Linked DNA regions of Homo sapiens: all the other regions are linked to region 1. Evidence: promoter capture Hi-C in 16 types of primary human blood cells and fetal thymus (Javierre and others, 2016). All regions are on one chromosome and are shown on one strand. The core of a region is centred on a gene start or on the middle of the fragment in contact, and the rest is flanking DNA. Distances in the headings are between cores, read along the strand shown. Region 1 overlaps PPARGC1B (PPARG coactivator 1 beta). Region 2 holds the start of SLC6A7 (solute carrier family 6 member 7). Region 3 holds the start of CDX1 (caudal type homeobox 1).

Region 1 (4,974 bases), core at 791-3,290:
TCTACCAGTGTCTGGAACACTAAAGTGTGAGAAAGTCCAGGGCTCCTTCCAGAAAACCCTAAACTAGGCTGGATCTCCAGAAGCAGTGCCCAGGACACCAGCTACAAGGGCTGTGGGAGGAGTGGGAAGAGATATTGGAGGTTGACTGAACTCGCTATCCTCCACCAGAGCTGAAGGCTGCAGCCCCAACAGACACCTGGGGTAGATTTGGGGGCATGTGAAGAAATACCTTAACACAAGGCCGTTGACTTTTAGATCTGAGGCCTGCCTGGCGCCAGGCGGTCCCTTCCTTCTGGGTGTCAGAGCTTGATGTTGGGTAGGATGTGGCCAGGAGGAGCTTCTGCAGCTGAGGGAAAAGCAGAGAGGACAGGAGCCGGGGCTGAGCCACAGCCAGAGGACATGGACTGCATGGCCAGCCCCTCAGGACTGACCTTGGGCATCACAGGACCACAGGGAGAACACAGGGTGGGCATTCCATGACCTGGGATGATGATCCCAAGATACTAGGTGCAGATGGTAGATTGTCTAACAATCCCGAACACACGTAAGTATGCTAATAACATACAAATCCTTTTCAGAGTTAATAACCCCAGGGAATAGCTATGACTTAGAAAAACTCAAGCAGGTCTTGGGTAACGTCTGTCTATTCTACTGTTAAAATATTATGATACAGTTTTATTGGGACATTCTGAGTGCACACACACACACACATACACACAATCTGGAAGGTTAGGTACCAAAATGATTCTCTGGTATGGGATTCTAGCTGATTTCCCCTTTGTTCTTTCTGTTTATTCATATTACCTCTAAAAATTAATTTCTTAAATTAAGCAAGGTAATACTTGTAAATGATTAAAAAAAAAAAAGAAGACACATCACAAATACTAAAGGGCAGACAATTAAAAGCAAGTCTCTCTCTTGCTCAAAGTCCCCTTCTGCCTCCTAGAGGCAACTCCACTAACTACTTTTCGGTGAACCTATCATGAGGTGGGCTTTCATTATGCAAGTATATGTATGTAGTCATTACCTCCAACCCACCCTGTTTTTTTTTTTTTTTCTTTTTTTTTTTTTTTTTTTTTTTTGAGATGCAGTCTCTGTCACCTAGGCTGGAGTGCAGTGGCAGGATCTCGGCTCACTGCAACCTCCACCTCACGGGTTCAAGCGATTCTCCTGCCTCAGCCTCCCAAGTAGCTGGGATTACAGGCGTCTGCCACCACACCCAGCTAATTTTTGTATTTTCGTAGAGATGGGGTTTTACCATGTTGGCCAGGCTGGTCTCAAACTCCTGACCTTAAGCGATCTGCCCGCCTCGGCCTCCCAAAGTGCTGAGATTATAGGCGTAAGCCACTGTGCCTGGCCCTACCCTGTTGTTTTTACACAAGTGGAAGACTACACTTAAGCTTGTTTGGCTTTTTTTTTTTTTTCTATAAAAACTGTAAAAGCTCTTCTGCTTCTGCACCCTGAGGGCAGGTACAGAGTGTACCTGAGCTGAGAGAGCAGGAAGTTGAATACATCTAGATTTTCCGCCGGAGATCCTAGCCAAGCTTGATAACAAACTGAGAAAGATCATGAGATTTTAGTACAGCACGGAGAGTTTCCCTGGGGAACATGCCACCCCAAGTCACTCCAACAAGGAATGCCAAAGGCCAGGAGCCAGAGAAAAGGCCACTCCACACTCTTGAGGAGCCACAGGATCCTGGCTACCCCACCTAAACCCCAAACCAGCACCCACATGTTTGTGACTTTTTCGATGGGAAATGATCCTAGGACTGGGGGAAAGAGACCTCATTCTAGCCTGGCTCAGGCCCGGTGCACTGTGAGAGCCTTGATTCCTCCATTGGTGTAATGAGCAGGGGCAGAGAGACTACATGGCTGGATTAAAACCTCTTTTTTTGACTCTAAGAATATGACAGAAGTTGCTGACCTCAGAAAATCACACAGACACACAGAGGTCCACAGGTCCTTACAAGTCCATCGCTGGACTCTCTGGGATCCATGGCCCAACCTGAGGTCCAGATGACTTCTCAGGGCCTTTTTGTTTGTTTGCTTTTTGTCTTTTAAAGAGATGGGGTCTTGCTCTGTCACCCAGGCTTGAATGCAGTATCATGATCCTAGCTCACTGAGGCCTCACACTCCTGGCTTTAGAAAATCCTCCTACCCCAGCCTCCAGAGTAGCTGGGACTACAGGCACGTGCCACCATACCGGGCTAATTTAAAAAAAAAAAAAAATCATAGAGATGGATCTTCCTATGTTGCCCAGGCTGGTCTCAAACTCCTGGCTTCAAGGGATCCTCCCACTCAGCCTCCCAAAGTGTTGGGATTACAGGTATAAGCCACTGTGCCCGGTCCCTCAGGGCCCTTCCAGATCTCTGTCGGTATGCAGGGAGTCTAGACAGCAAGTCTGTTTCCTGTGTGCCTTGCACAATGGCTGAAACAGAGGCACTCAATAAGCATGTAGGGAATGAAGGTAATCTAAGGCATGGGAGGGAAACAACCTTTGACCAGCAGGGGTCGCGCTTTGCCTCTTTAAGCTTTGGTTCTTCTCCAAAGGCCCCGTGAAGAAATGGCACTAGAATGCTTGTTACCACTAATGGTTGTACCAGAAGTATTAGTTCACATTTACTGAGCAACTCTATGTGCCAGGCACTGTTCTAAGTGCTTTATGTGTATTATCTGCTGTAATCCTCCTAATAGCCTTTGACATAGGCACTATTATTAACCCCTCTTTATAGATCAGGAAGCCGAGGCTTAGAGAGGTTCAGGATGTATGCCTAAGGGACATACAAGTACTAAATGGCAGGGCTGGGATTCAAACCTAGGTGCTTCGATTCCAGTCTGAAATGAAGCAGGACCCCCTCTCGGCAGGAGCCATAATGTGGGACTGAACATATTCTGTGCCTGGCATGGTGGGTGCTTCACGCTGCTTTGGGGAACTTGAAGGCAGTGGGAAGGAAGGGAAAGGGTCCTAGACTAGGAGTGAATACCTGAGTTCTAGTCTTTGCTGGCACACTGACTTGCTGTGTGACTACTGGAGATACCCTCCCCACTCTGGGCCACAGTTTTTCCAGAGCTGGGCTTGAGGGTCACCAAGGGCCTTTCCAGCTCAAACTCTCCATAACCTAAGAACCCTCCCGGCTCCAACAGGCTCTGATTTTCTAGCTGAGTCCTGCCAGCCTCCAGGAGCCACAGCACCAAGGGAGGGGCCCAAGACAGGCTGAGCAAAGCTAGACTTCACACTCCAGGACAGCTCAGCTATGGGTGCTCTCAGCCCGGATTGAGAGCGACTGCTTCCAGTAACTTCTGAGTTCCAGACTCCTTTGAAAATCTGATAAAATCTGATGTTCTCCCTAGAAAGCTGCTATTCCATGTGCACATTTCCACATTCCGCACACGCTCACACCGCATTTAACTTCTGCTGGTGGAAGTGTAAACCAGTCCAACATCTTTGGAGGGCAATCTGCAAGTATCTGCTTAAACTGGAAAATCACAGATCCACAGACCCAGGAATTTCATTTTTAAGAATTTGTCCATTTACATGTCACAAAGGCCTGTATAAGAACAGTTACTGTGCCACTGCTTGTAATGAGGAAGGAGTTGAAACAACACAAATACCCAACAGGGGAACCAGTGAAACCCTACCAAGGAACATTACACAGCCAACACAAAGAATGAAACAGAGCTCTACGTGCTCATGTGGAAGAGCTTCCAAGACACACAGTTAACCGTGAAAGCAACGTGCAGAGCCCTAATGTAGACTCCCTTTTGTAGTAAAATCTTTTAAAAGGTAGAAGAGGAAAGTCACATAACAGATCAGTAACCATGGTTACCTCTGGGACAGGAAAAAGCAACAGAGAGAGGGCTAAGGAGGTTTTGCTTTTAACTGTCCACTTTTACTACCTGGATTTTTACCATGTGTGTGCAATCTTCAGGAAAATGTTTTGCATGTAATTTCAAGGATTTAACACGTAACTTGGTCAATCCCTAAAGTACCAAAGAGCATAGAGAATGCAGGTGAAGCCTCTGTCGTTAGTACCTCTGTCTAGGTGGGAAAGGTTAAGTCCAGGGGGGCCTCCCACCTTCGGCCCACGCTCTCTGCTGTGATCAATATTGCCAGTGATGCACGGAGTCCCCTGCGGGGCTGGAGCGGATTGCTCTGCACCCCATGCCCTGAACCAGAAACCTAATCCCAGGCTGCAACCATCACTTCTGCTGTAAGTAGGTTCTTACCAGTGAGAGCTCGTCCACCTCAGGGGCTGGGGCCGAGGGCTTCTCCGGGGCAGGGCTGGGGGGTGCAGATGAGGGGGCAGGCGAAGCTGAGGTGCATGATAGAGCGTCTCCACCATCCAGGGCTGGGAAGGCAGCCAGACCCACGTCATCTTCAGGGATGTCATCCAGGGTCTTGGTGAGCTCTGCCAGGAGGGCCTCATTCTCACTGTCAATCTGGAGTGAGGAGGGCGGGAGGGTCAGAAAGGCAGATGGGGAGATGGTTAGTCACCACCTTAGACTCAGTCTCCACGGTGGACACCAGCTCTGCCCAGCCAGCTGGCCCACCAACACCCTCCTGCCATACCCTCCCCTCTGCCCACCCAGCAGAGCTGCTCAGTATTCCTGGCATAGCAGATGCCCAATAAATGTGTTATTGACTCCAAGAATCCCAGAATTTTATGAACAGGCAGTAGATGACAATGGAAAGGGCCCTGCCTGGGAGTCCCACTCTGGGCTCTGCTGCTTATCACATACCTGGGCACAGGGCTGTCCACCTGAGTGACGCCTACCTCCCCCACCAAGGACAGAGGCTGGCCTACCACACTGGTAGCAGCAACCCGTTACAGCCCCTCAGACCCTGGGGTCCAGGCAGAGTGAAGGCCAGAAGCTCCAGGGTTCAACCATGACAATAATAACCACAGCAGTGACGAGGCAGCTATAATTTCTCTGCGGGTTCCCAGAGCTTACTCTCCTCATTCACTCCTGAGG
Region 2 (4,974 bases), core at 1,589-4,088, 360 kb before region 1:
ACTGTTCCTGGTGTTGGGTGGTGAGCAGGCCTGTTACCCTGAGACACCCCCCGCCCATCCCAGCACCATTCAGGCCAGTTAGCAGGAGGTCCCAGTAATGAGGATCCTCTGATCCCTCCAGAGAAGCTGCCCTTTCCATGCTCATGGAGCGGTCCCGGTTCTCTGTTTCCATGGTGACTAGAGTTCCAAGAGCAGGATGCTGCCAGCTCGTCCCCCTCCTCCCCCAATCAGAGGGAAGCCTGCTTCTGCTCCAGGGGCAGGAGATAGGGTCCTCCAAAGCTGAGCCAATCAGGAGCCCAACTGGAGTTCCCAACCCCACCATGGGGTGAATCCCAGGAGGCTGGCACAGTGAGGATGGGGCTGGTTGGGAGATGGAAGAAAGCAATCAAATAGCTGGGGCAGGGCTGGAAGCTGAATGAGTTGCTTCATACTTCTTCCTGGGTGTAAGCCTCCCACTCCTGAATCTCCCACTCCCTACCCCAGGGGCATGCAGGAACACACAGCTGAGTTTGTCAGACCTGCATGCTCGCCTTTAGGGACTCACAGCAGGGGCTGGGAGACTCAAGACTGCCCAAGCCAAGACTCTTCAGGACAGAGAGAGACAATAGGAATCTGGGGTCCAGCTTCATCATTGTGCAGATTAGGAAACCAAGTTTCAGGAAGAAGGGATGAGCCCAAGGTCAAACAGCAAGTTAAAGGCACAGCAAGACTTGGACCTAGATCCCCTGACTCTAAGTCCAGTGTTCATCTCTGAGCAATGCTGCTCCTTTGCGGAAATCTGGCATTTTCTCATTCCCGCCCAATTCTGCTTGAGAAAAGGGAAAGGACCCTGAGAGGAGGTAGCAACCTAGAACCAACCCTCTGCCCTGTTGGCTCTAGGTTGCCTAGCCTGCCAGCAGGTAAGCAGTGAGTCTCACCCCTCTGTGCCTCAGTTGCCTTATTTATAAAGTGGGGCTACTAAGACCTAGCCCCTGGAAGTGTTAAAGGATTAAATGAGATAAAGCTTGCTAACCCCCCAGCCCAGCACCCAGCAAGAGGGACAGGGCCTCTTGTGGGGAGGGAGGGCAGAGAGGGAAGAGAAGGAGAGTGGAAAAGAATGGAAACAGGACCCAAGAGACTCACAAATGGTCTCAAGAAGTCACTCATGTCAGTGAATAAAAAAGACATACCAGCTGGGCGCAGTGACTCACACCTGTAATCCCAGCACTTTGGGAGGCCGAGGCGGGCGGATCACGAGGTCAGAAGATCAAGACCATCCTGGCTAACACGGTGAAACCCCGTCTCTACTAAAAATACAAAACATTAGCCAGGCGTGGTGGCGGGCGCCTATAGTCCCAGCTACTCGGGAGGCTGAGGCAGGAGAATGGCGTGAACCCGGGAGGCAGAGCTTGCAGTGAGCCGAGATCACACCACTGCACTCCAACCTGGGTGACAGAGCGAGACTCCGTCTCAAAAAAAAAAAACAAGAAAAAGAAAAAAGACACACCACAGTGGTTCCAAGCCCAGCTGCCCCAGAGCAGAGAACTTGAATGAATGAGTGTGTGTGTGAGTGAGTGTGAGTGTGAATGTGTGTGTATGTAGGGAGGTTGATAACACCAGCCCCTGAGAACAGTCTTCTCACATCTACCAGCCCTTTAGCATTCTTCCCCACACCTCACACACCCAGTGGGGCCTGTTTTGGTGCCTCCAGGCTAGGGCTTAGCCAGAGGAGGTTCAGGTTAGAGAATGAACTTGTCCAAAGTCACCAGGCAAGTGGCAGCGGCAGAAATAGTATTCAGGAGATCTGACTCCTTAGTTAGGACTGGTACAAGCCAGAAAACGTCCCCCAGTATTCCCCCTCCCCATATCCTGACAGCTTGGCTGAGAGGTCCAATCCCACAAGGCAAGGTAGGGAGAGCCTGAGGTCTGGGCCCACAGCCACTCTCCCATACCAGCTTCCATCTTCATTGATCATATCCTCCTGCCTCCGATAGCCCCCTCCCTGTCTTTGCCTCCCTTCAGCCCTGCTGAGGGGCAGCCTGGGGTCTCAGCAGGCAAGCTAAGGGGGCGGGGAGGGAGCAGGCAGGAAAGAGGAGAGTCTTCCCGCAGGCTCAGGGAGCCGGCTTCAGTATGGATGACCGCCTCCCACTCCCCACCCCTCAGATGAGTCCAGCTCAACGCTCAGGTATTCCAATACCCCCCACACCCGGCAATCAGCTCCTGGCGGGGAGCAGCAGGGTGGAATTGGGGAAGAGGTGGGTGCCTGGCCCCGGCCGCCCCTACCCCGCGCCTCCGGGGACTGCAGACACCTGTTCATAGGCCTGGCCCAGTGAACCAGGACTCCCCTCATACTACATCCCGAACCCCAGATGGCAGGGGCAGAGGTGGGGGCGCAGACCGTGACCCTGACCCTCCCTGTTATCCAGCTGAGTCGGGCCTTCCCCAGAGCCCGAAGCTGGTCTGGGTGCATCCTCAGACCTTCCCCAGGGGCCTCGTTGGGGGCGGGTCTCTCCAACCCTCCTCCAGGTGCACCCCCAGCGCCCCCGCCCTCGTGCCCTACCTTGCGGAGGTGAGCTCCCTGGAGCTTCTTCATCTTGGAGAGCGGGTGGCCGGGGCTCAGCTGCCCCGGAGCGCAGAGAGCGAGGGCACGAGAGATGGTCCGCTGGCCACTGCGCCTTTGCCCCCGCGGCTCCCGCGCACCGGCTGGGGCGGGCACGGACGCAGGCGCTGCCGTCTGGCGGCTGCGGGCGTGGAGCGCGGGCAGGGCGCTGCGAATGCCTTGTCTGTCCCTGCGCAGCGCCCGAGGCTGGGGAAGGGTGCACTGCTGCGCCCGCATAGACACCCAGACAGACAGCTGACGGACGGACGGCGGGGGGATGCGCGCGCCCCCGCACGCAGAGCTGCGGATTGGAGAGCCCTGAGCGAGTGGGGAGGGGGGTTCGCGACGGAAACCCTCGGCTTTCTGCGTGACCTTGGGCAAGCGACCTGCCCTCTCTGGGACTCCCTTTCCACAGTTGGGCAAGGAACACTAACAGCCCACCCCCCTGCGTCGTCTTTGCTGTGCGACCTTAGGGGATAAGAATCTCTCCTCTCTTACAGGAGTGTGAGCAATTCAGGAAGATGGAGCATAGAAAACATCTAGCACAAAGAGCCTGACACATAGTAGGTGCTCAGTTAACATTTATTCACTGACTGTGGGTTGCCCACGCCACCATTAGTCCAATTATTCAATCTATCAGTATTTATTGAGCACCTAAAATGTGCCAGGTCCTGAACTAGGTGTCCTATTTTCTCAACCTGGAGAGACAGGTGTCGTTACTCCTATTCTACAGATGAGGAAGCTGAGGGACAGGGAAGTTAAGTTACTTACTCAAAGTCACGGGGCTAATGAGTGACACCAGGGACAGAGTCAGGCTTCATGGACCTTTAGGCTAGTAGAGTCTTCAACTCTCCTCCTTTCCTTAAGATGAAAGCAAAATGGGGAGGTTTGGGTGAGCAGAAGGGACAGGCAAGTGCCACAGTGTCACTGTGATCTGTGACTTAGATGATTAGTAACTGGTTTCCTGTCCAGCAGCAGTATGGCTTCTGGAAAGTTCTAATTTCATATCTGTAAAATGGGCCACGAGCCGCCCATGCATTGTTGCCTCAGAATGTTCTGAGGGTCCAGTGAGCCTGTGGCTAGGATGGGAAATGATGAGCTGGAGCAATGGCACACGTTGGTTTGCTGGGACTGACTGATAGACACTAGCGGATCAGTATATACATTACAAATTGTGTCCTTTTCACCCTCGCAAGTGTCCCAGTTTAGACATTAACCATACATCTGTTTGGCTCACTATCAGTTGACACGGTGGGAGGCCTTTGGGGAGAGATGAGAATAAGGTTCTGCTCTCTCCCACCTCTGGAGCTTGAAAAAAGGTTGGAGGGGTTTAAGTCAAAGCATGGACTTGGGTAAAGGCCTGGCCAGGCTCCAGTCCACCCCTTCCCCTGCCCAGGTCCTGTCAAACTTCTCTCCCCTTTGAGCCTGGCCACAAAGGGCAAACCAGGGGCTCTCCAGACCCAGGAGGAAGGTGTCTCCTCTGCCCCCTGCCTGCTGACCCATATGGGGCCAAGAGTGGCTGTGAGTGTGAAGAGAAGGAGCATTTATGGAGCCCTACTGTGTGCATTATGAAGGATTTTTGCATCCAACATCTAATTTTTAATTCTTTCCAACTGTCTGGGAAGACATGTTTGTGCATCTCATTTTACACCTGTGGAAACTGTCCCAGAGGAGTGAAGTCATGCACTGGGCGTTGGGGATGAAGCCAGGAAAGCTGTGGGTCATGGCTGGGAAAGGCAGAAGCCAAGGGCTCCTGAATCCAAGGAGGCCCAGGCAGGAAACTTCCCCATCCCTCACCCAAGGCTTGTCAATGCATCTTGTACAAAAGAGGCTCAACCTTGCTCAACCACTCCCTCCCATTGGCACTTGGGTTTCATGAGACCCTTTGGAAGGCACAGAGGGCCACAGGGACAGCGAGCAGGGATGAGGCAGTTGGCTCAGGAGCCAAGAAGACTGGCCTCTTTATGACCCTTCCTAGCAGCACCTGCTCCTCCCACTTCACGGACCCAGCCCTGGGGGAGAAGAAGGGAGTGGACCAGGGCTTTAGCTTCCCTTGAGCAGACACATCAGGGGGTGACCACTGAGCCACTGTGGCAGTCACTGGGACTGTGAGGTGCAAATGGATCTAGGCCCATGCCTTTCAGATAGGGAAACTGAGACCCAGAGGGGCAGGATTTGCAAAATCACTCAGTGATTCAGTAAAGACAGGATCATGTCTATAACCTAGGAGTCTGACCTCACCCAGGCTCTGCCCTCTAGCTCATACCTCTCTGCCACCATCACCTCCATCCCCACAGCCCTGGTGGGGAAAGTCTGCCCTTTCATAAAACAAACAAAACTCAAAGATTTTCTTTTCTTTATTTTTTTGAGAGAGATCTTGCTCTATTACCCAGGTT
Region 3 (4,974 bases), core at 704-3,203, 340 kb before region 1:
ACAGACTTAGTGGTTAGTCCACCTGGGTTCAAATCCCAGCCCCACTAGTTACAGGTTATATGGCCTTGGGCAAGTACTTAAACTCTCTATGCCATAGTTTCTTCATCTTAAAATGGGGGTGATAATAGTACCTACGATGATGTTTTAAGAGTTAAAGGAGTTAATGCATGCAAGATCTTACTTAGGTCATGCCTGGTCCGTTAGTTAAGTGTTCCAAAACATTAGCTGTTATTTAATCAAGGCCACAGAAGCAAGTGGCAGAGTCTGGTTCCCTGCATCTCCCTGGAGGCAGATAGGAGGTTATGTATCCCCGGGACTTCCAAAAAGGGGATATGATTATGGCCAGAACCCGTAGCTCCTGATCAAGGCCAACCCAGCATCTGCCCCGAGGCAAGCTGGGTGTGTGTGGGGAGATGGGGGTGAAGAGTGCGAGGAGGTGGGAGAAGTCCCAGGATTATTCGCAGCTGGGGTAAGGGGAGGAGGGGCTGGACATCAAAGGGTGGGCAGGCCAGCTTCCCGCCCCCAAGGCTAGGTGGCCTTTGTCAGGACAGGCCGGACACAGTCCGGACAATGGAACGTCGTGTTCACTTTCCGGCCAACAGGAGTCACTACCGAGCCAAGGCAGAGCCAGTTGCATGACAAAGGGGGGACCCATAACGGAGGTCAAGCCGCCCCTCATTAAAGTTGGGCCCTTTGTCCTGCCCCCTACCCTGCCTTTGAAGAGGGCGGATCAGAGAGGCCTGCCTGGGGGCAGGAGGTTCACAGGCTCAGGAGCCAAACAGTAGCCCCCCTTCCCACTGCTCCCGCTTCCCCTCCCCCGGGGTCAAGAGTTCAGGGAGGACCCTGAGAAGGTAAGGTACAGACCCCTTGCCCCAGTCTGGCCAAAGAGGGCTCTTTTTCAGCCTGAAGGATATGACCCAGCAATGTCTTGACTGTGTGATGGGGAGACCCAGCCCTGGCCAGGAAAGTCACCTGCCCTGTTCACACAGTTAGTTAATCGTCCCTTCTGGGGCGAACCTGCCGCCTTTGCCTAGGGCTGGGTTAGGAGTGGAAGAAGCAGATGAAGAGCACGGAGTCGGTGTTGCTAAATGAGTGTGGGACACGAGTCTGGGAGCCTGCGTTCTAGTTCGGGTCTTGCTCCGCGGCCGCAGGCGCATTTCCGCACTTCGCAGGGGGTCTCGGTTTCCCTATCTGTACAGAGAGAGGGTTAGGCTGTGCTGCTGAAGGCTCCGATAGCCTGAGACTGAGGAGAGGGAGCCAAAGAGCAGCCCCCCAGGGCGAGAGTGGACAGGAGGGCCACACTCCCGGGAACCCGAGCAGGGCCGGAGCAGAGGTCAGACAGGGGGCGGCCTGGGCCGCGCCCGAGCACCTGCAGGTCCAGAGGCGCAGGGCGAGGGAAGGGTCCTTACCGCTGCCACCGCCGCCTCCGGCCGCCACGCTGCGCCGCATCCACTCGTAGGGCGTCGGCCTCTGCGCTCCGGGCGAGGACGGTGTGCCCGGGCCCCCGAGGGGCTGCGCCAGGAGGCCCGGGCCGGGCCCAGGGGGCGCCGGCACCGGGCTAAAGTCTGGAGGGGGCCCGAATGCCAGCGAAGCTGGGCTGGCGGCAGGGGCCGCGGGGCCCGGGCCGTAGGCGGCGGCCCAGTCGTCCTTGGGCGCAGGGAAGGGCGCCCCCCAGGCCGTCGGGGGCGCGGGGGCCGGCTCCACGTGAGAGTAGCTGGAGAAGTCGGGGTACTGCGGGGGCGCCGGGGGCGGGGCCGGGGGGCCGTAGGCTTGCGGGCCCAGGCCGAGGCTGGCTGGCCTGGCTGGGCCGGGGTACACGGGCGAATCCTTGTCCAGCACATAGCCCACATACATGGTGGCCGCGGGGTCCCCCGCGCATGCTGGGCCCTGGAGCCGCCGCTGCCGGCCGCCCCGACGACGAGCAACCGCTCACCTGAACTCGGCTGTCCTGCCGCCGCGCCCGCCCCACCCAGGCCTTTTATAGCTCCGGGCCGCCCGCGGCCCCAGCCGAGGCGGGTTTGCATTTCAAAGCGGGGGGAAGCCTCCGGGCCGCGAATCAAAGGGGGAAACCCGTCGGGGGCGGGGGGTTCAAAAGGAGACAAATTGCCGCCCCAAGCGGGAGGTGGACTGGCCAGGGCCTGGAGGGGGTGGGGGCGCGGAGGGCGCGTCTTGGGCGAGGGTCGAGGCCGCGCTGCGAGTGGGAATCGCTTGCCAGGGAGCGGCCTAGCGGCCTGAACACCTTGTCCTTCCGGTGGCCGCGTGGACGGCCCTGCAGCCCCATTTTACAGGCGGAGGAACAAGCTCCCAGGGGCCGGGGGATTCTAGGCCAACTTCACACAGTGACCAGCTTGAGGTGAGGGGCAACGCAGACTTCAAACAGGGCTCCGGTCTGTAGGATCGCAGGTCCTTAATCTTTTGGCGGGGAGGGGTCACGACCCCTCTCGTCATGGAAGCTGTGGATGTTTTTCCCTGGGGAAATGCACATATGCACATACATACACGAGTCTTCCTTACAGTTGGGGGACTGCCTGGGTTGGCCTTCTAGAGAAAGTTCTCAAAAGGCAGTGTGTGTGTGGGTGTGTGTGTGTGTGAGTTAGGGGGGTCTTCTGGGGACATTACAGGAAACTTTTAGTAAATTATCTTGATGACTCTCTACCCTCTTTTTTTAATTGAGAGGTTTCAAGCATACACAAAAGTAGAATTGTATAATGAACTGCTGTGTACCCATCACCCCGCTTCAACAACTATTAAGGTTTTGTCACACTTATTTCACCTACTCCCCGCTTTTCTGAAGTATTTTAAAACAAATTCCAGACATCATGTCATTTTACCCCTACATACTTCAGCACGCATCTCTAAAACACATGGACATTTTCTTACATAATATGCCATTATCACATCTAGCAAAATTAACACAAATTCCTGGGTATTACCTAACACACAGTTCGTATTCAAAGTACTCCAATTGATTCAAAAATGTCTTTTTAGCAGTCTGTTTGTGTGAATCGGGATCCAAAAGCCCTGATCCATTTATTATGGCTGGAGCCCCCTTGGGATTTTAAATGCATCACGTGTTCCTCCACTCCATATGAAGGACTGGCAAACATTTCATAGCTACCTAAGGGGGAGTGGGGGCTGGGAACACTTGAGGGGGTGTCAGTGAACTGGGAGTGGGGACAAGGCTGAGGGATTTGGGGAAGGGTGCATGAAGGACAGGGCTCTGGGTCAGGAAGTCAGATGGGGTCCCTCCGCACAAGGGCTTTGTGCCAGGGAGCTGTGCAGAAGCACCCTGTGGGATTGGATGGGCCCACATTTCCTGGGTTCCTCTCATTGTGCAGGGATGTGTGGTCCCCAGAAGAAGGTCAGAATCAGGGTCTTATCTGTTCAACCCGTCTCTCTCTTGGGTCACCATATTAGCCGGGGGCTGGTCAGTATCATCTCAGGGCTGGGCAGATGTTTCGGGATCAGGACATAATTTGCAGGGCCGGGAGCAAAATAAAAAATATAAGGTCCCTTGTTCAAAAATGATTAAGGATTTCAGGATGGTGGCAGCAGAGCATTCACCTGAGCCCGGGGCCCTTCCACACACTGGGCTCTGTGTGACTGCAATGGTGACCCGCCTGGGAAGCTGGCCCTGGTGAGACTCTTGCTCTTCTGGGGCTCTGATATGTGATAGAGCCAGAGACTCAGCCAGCACAGGGCTCCCTCCGCTTCCTGCTCAGAGGAACCCTTTCCATTGCACAGGTAGAAGCATTGAGGCTCAGAAAGGAAAGGAGTAATGCCCAGTGTTTGCTGCAACATGAAGGCTGCTTGTAGGAGAGGGGAAGGGAAATCCTGGCTGTTGCTGACCGGGCGGAGCCCTTGGCTACCTTGCAGGAGCACATGGCTGTCCACATGTGTGTGGATCAGCACATGACACAGATGAGCACATGGCTGCCTCAGCAGGGAAGATCCCACTTTCCCAGGTCAGGAAGTGGATGCGGTGCTGAAATGTTTCTCTGGAGCTCTGGGCTCTGCTTAGGACTCAAGTTTTCAAGGGATTGGTGGGAAACTGGCAAGTACACAGAGGAGGGAGAAGAGGCCCAAGAGGACTGAACTCCACTTTCTGAGCTGAGAGAACTGGGACTGCTTGGACTGAAGGAAGAGAAAACCTGGAGTGGGGTCTGAGTCTGGGGAGGAAGACAGGGCAGACTTGGGACCTCAGGGAGGAAACTGCAGGCTACAGATGTGGATTTCAGCCCACCCATACGTAAGAAAGTGCTCTGTAAGGGGCCATCTGTCAGGAAATGGGCTGTCATGAGAGAGAGTGAGCTCATGATCACAGGAGGTATGTAAGTGAGTGCTGGAGGTCAGTCTCACGTTAGGGATGCTGGGGGAAAGGATGCCTATCCCGGGGGAAGGGTGCTCTCTAAGTGCCCTCTAGTTTCAAGAGTATGCTCTGTCAGGCCTAAATGGTAGGCTTAAAGGTTGGAAATAGGCATACAAATTCATTTCTTTATGTATGTATTTATTTGAAAAATATATATTATTAACACACCTCCTTTGTGCTGACACTATGTTAGGTACTGAGTGAGGCCCTGCCCTTGCAGTAATTACAGTTGGGGTCTGGCGGGGGTGGACAGGTATGAATCAAATAATCACAAATAAAGGTAAAGTTACATCTTGGCAAGGGCCAGGAATAGGGAGATTTGACCCAGAGGGAGGAGTCAGGGAAGACTTGCAGGAGGAAGTGACACGTGAGTCAAGGCCCTGGGGAGTGGGGAAGGGCGGCAGGGGTCAAGGGTCAGTATGAACAGAGGCCCTGAGGCCCGAGGGGACACTTGTTCCCTTAGCACTTAAAGGCCAGTCTGGAGTGGTAGGGGCAAGAGAGGAGTCCGGCAAGGGGCAGAGCAGGCCCTGGTGGGACAAGCCTGATGAGGGTGTGGAAGGGTATTATCTAGGGGTAGAGTGGCGGAGGGCAGTGGCGGGAAGACA

What was found. Contacts are between HindIII fragments. The CHiCAGO score rates a contact against its expected background, and 5 or more counts as called.
Region 2: the fragment with the promoter of SLC6A7 here is called in contact with a fragment that was not itself captured in region 1 in 1 of 17 cell types (endothelial precursors); the score reaches 6.7 in endothelial precursors.
Region 3: the fragment with the promoter of CDX1 here is called in contact with a fragment that was not itself captured in region 1 in 1 of 17 cell types (endothelial precursors); the score reaches 6.4 in endothelial precursors.

What each region holds. Positions count from the first base shown.
Region 1 is chr5:149,826,139-149,831,112 of GRCh38, reverse strand. It overlaps PPARGC1B (PPARG coactivator 1 beta), which reads right to left. Exons shown (of 12, transcript NM_133263.4): 3 at 4,228-4,440; 4 at 230-346. Among named protein-coding and RNA genes, the nearest start is that of MIR378A, 96 kb to the right of the region's middle. The HindIII fragment of the contact is 987 bases long and covers 1,547-2,533 here.
Region 2 is chr5:150,187,926-150,192,899 of GRCh38, reverse strand. SLC6A7 (solute carrier family 6 member 7) reads right to left here and starts at 2,838. Exons shown (of 14, transcript NM_014228.5): 1 at 2,540-2,838. The coding sequence starts at 2,572. The HindIII fragment of the contact is 12,060 bases long and covers 1,006-4,974 here.
Region 3 is chr5:150,163,757-150,168,730 of GRCh38, reverse strand. CDX1 (caudal type homeobox 1) reads right to left here and starts at 1,953. Exons shown (of 3, transcript NM_001804.3): 1 at 1,410-1,953. The coding sequence starts at 1,854. The HindIII fragment of the contact is 7,821 bases long and covers 1-4,974 here.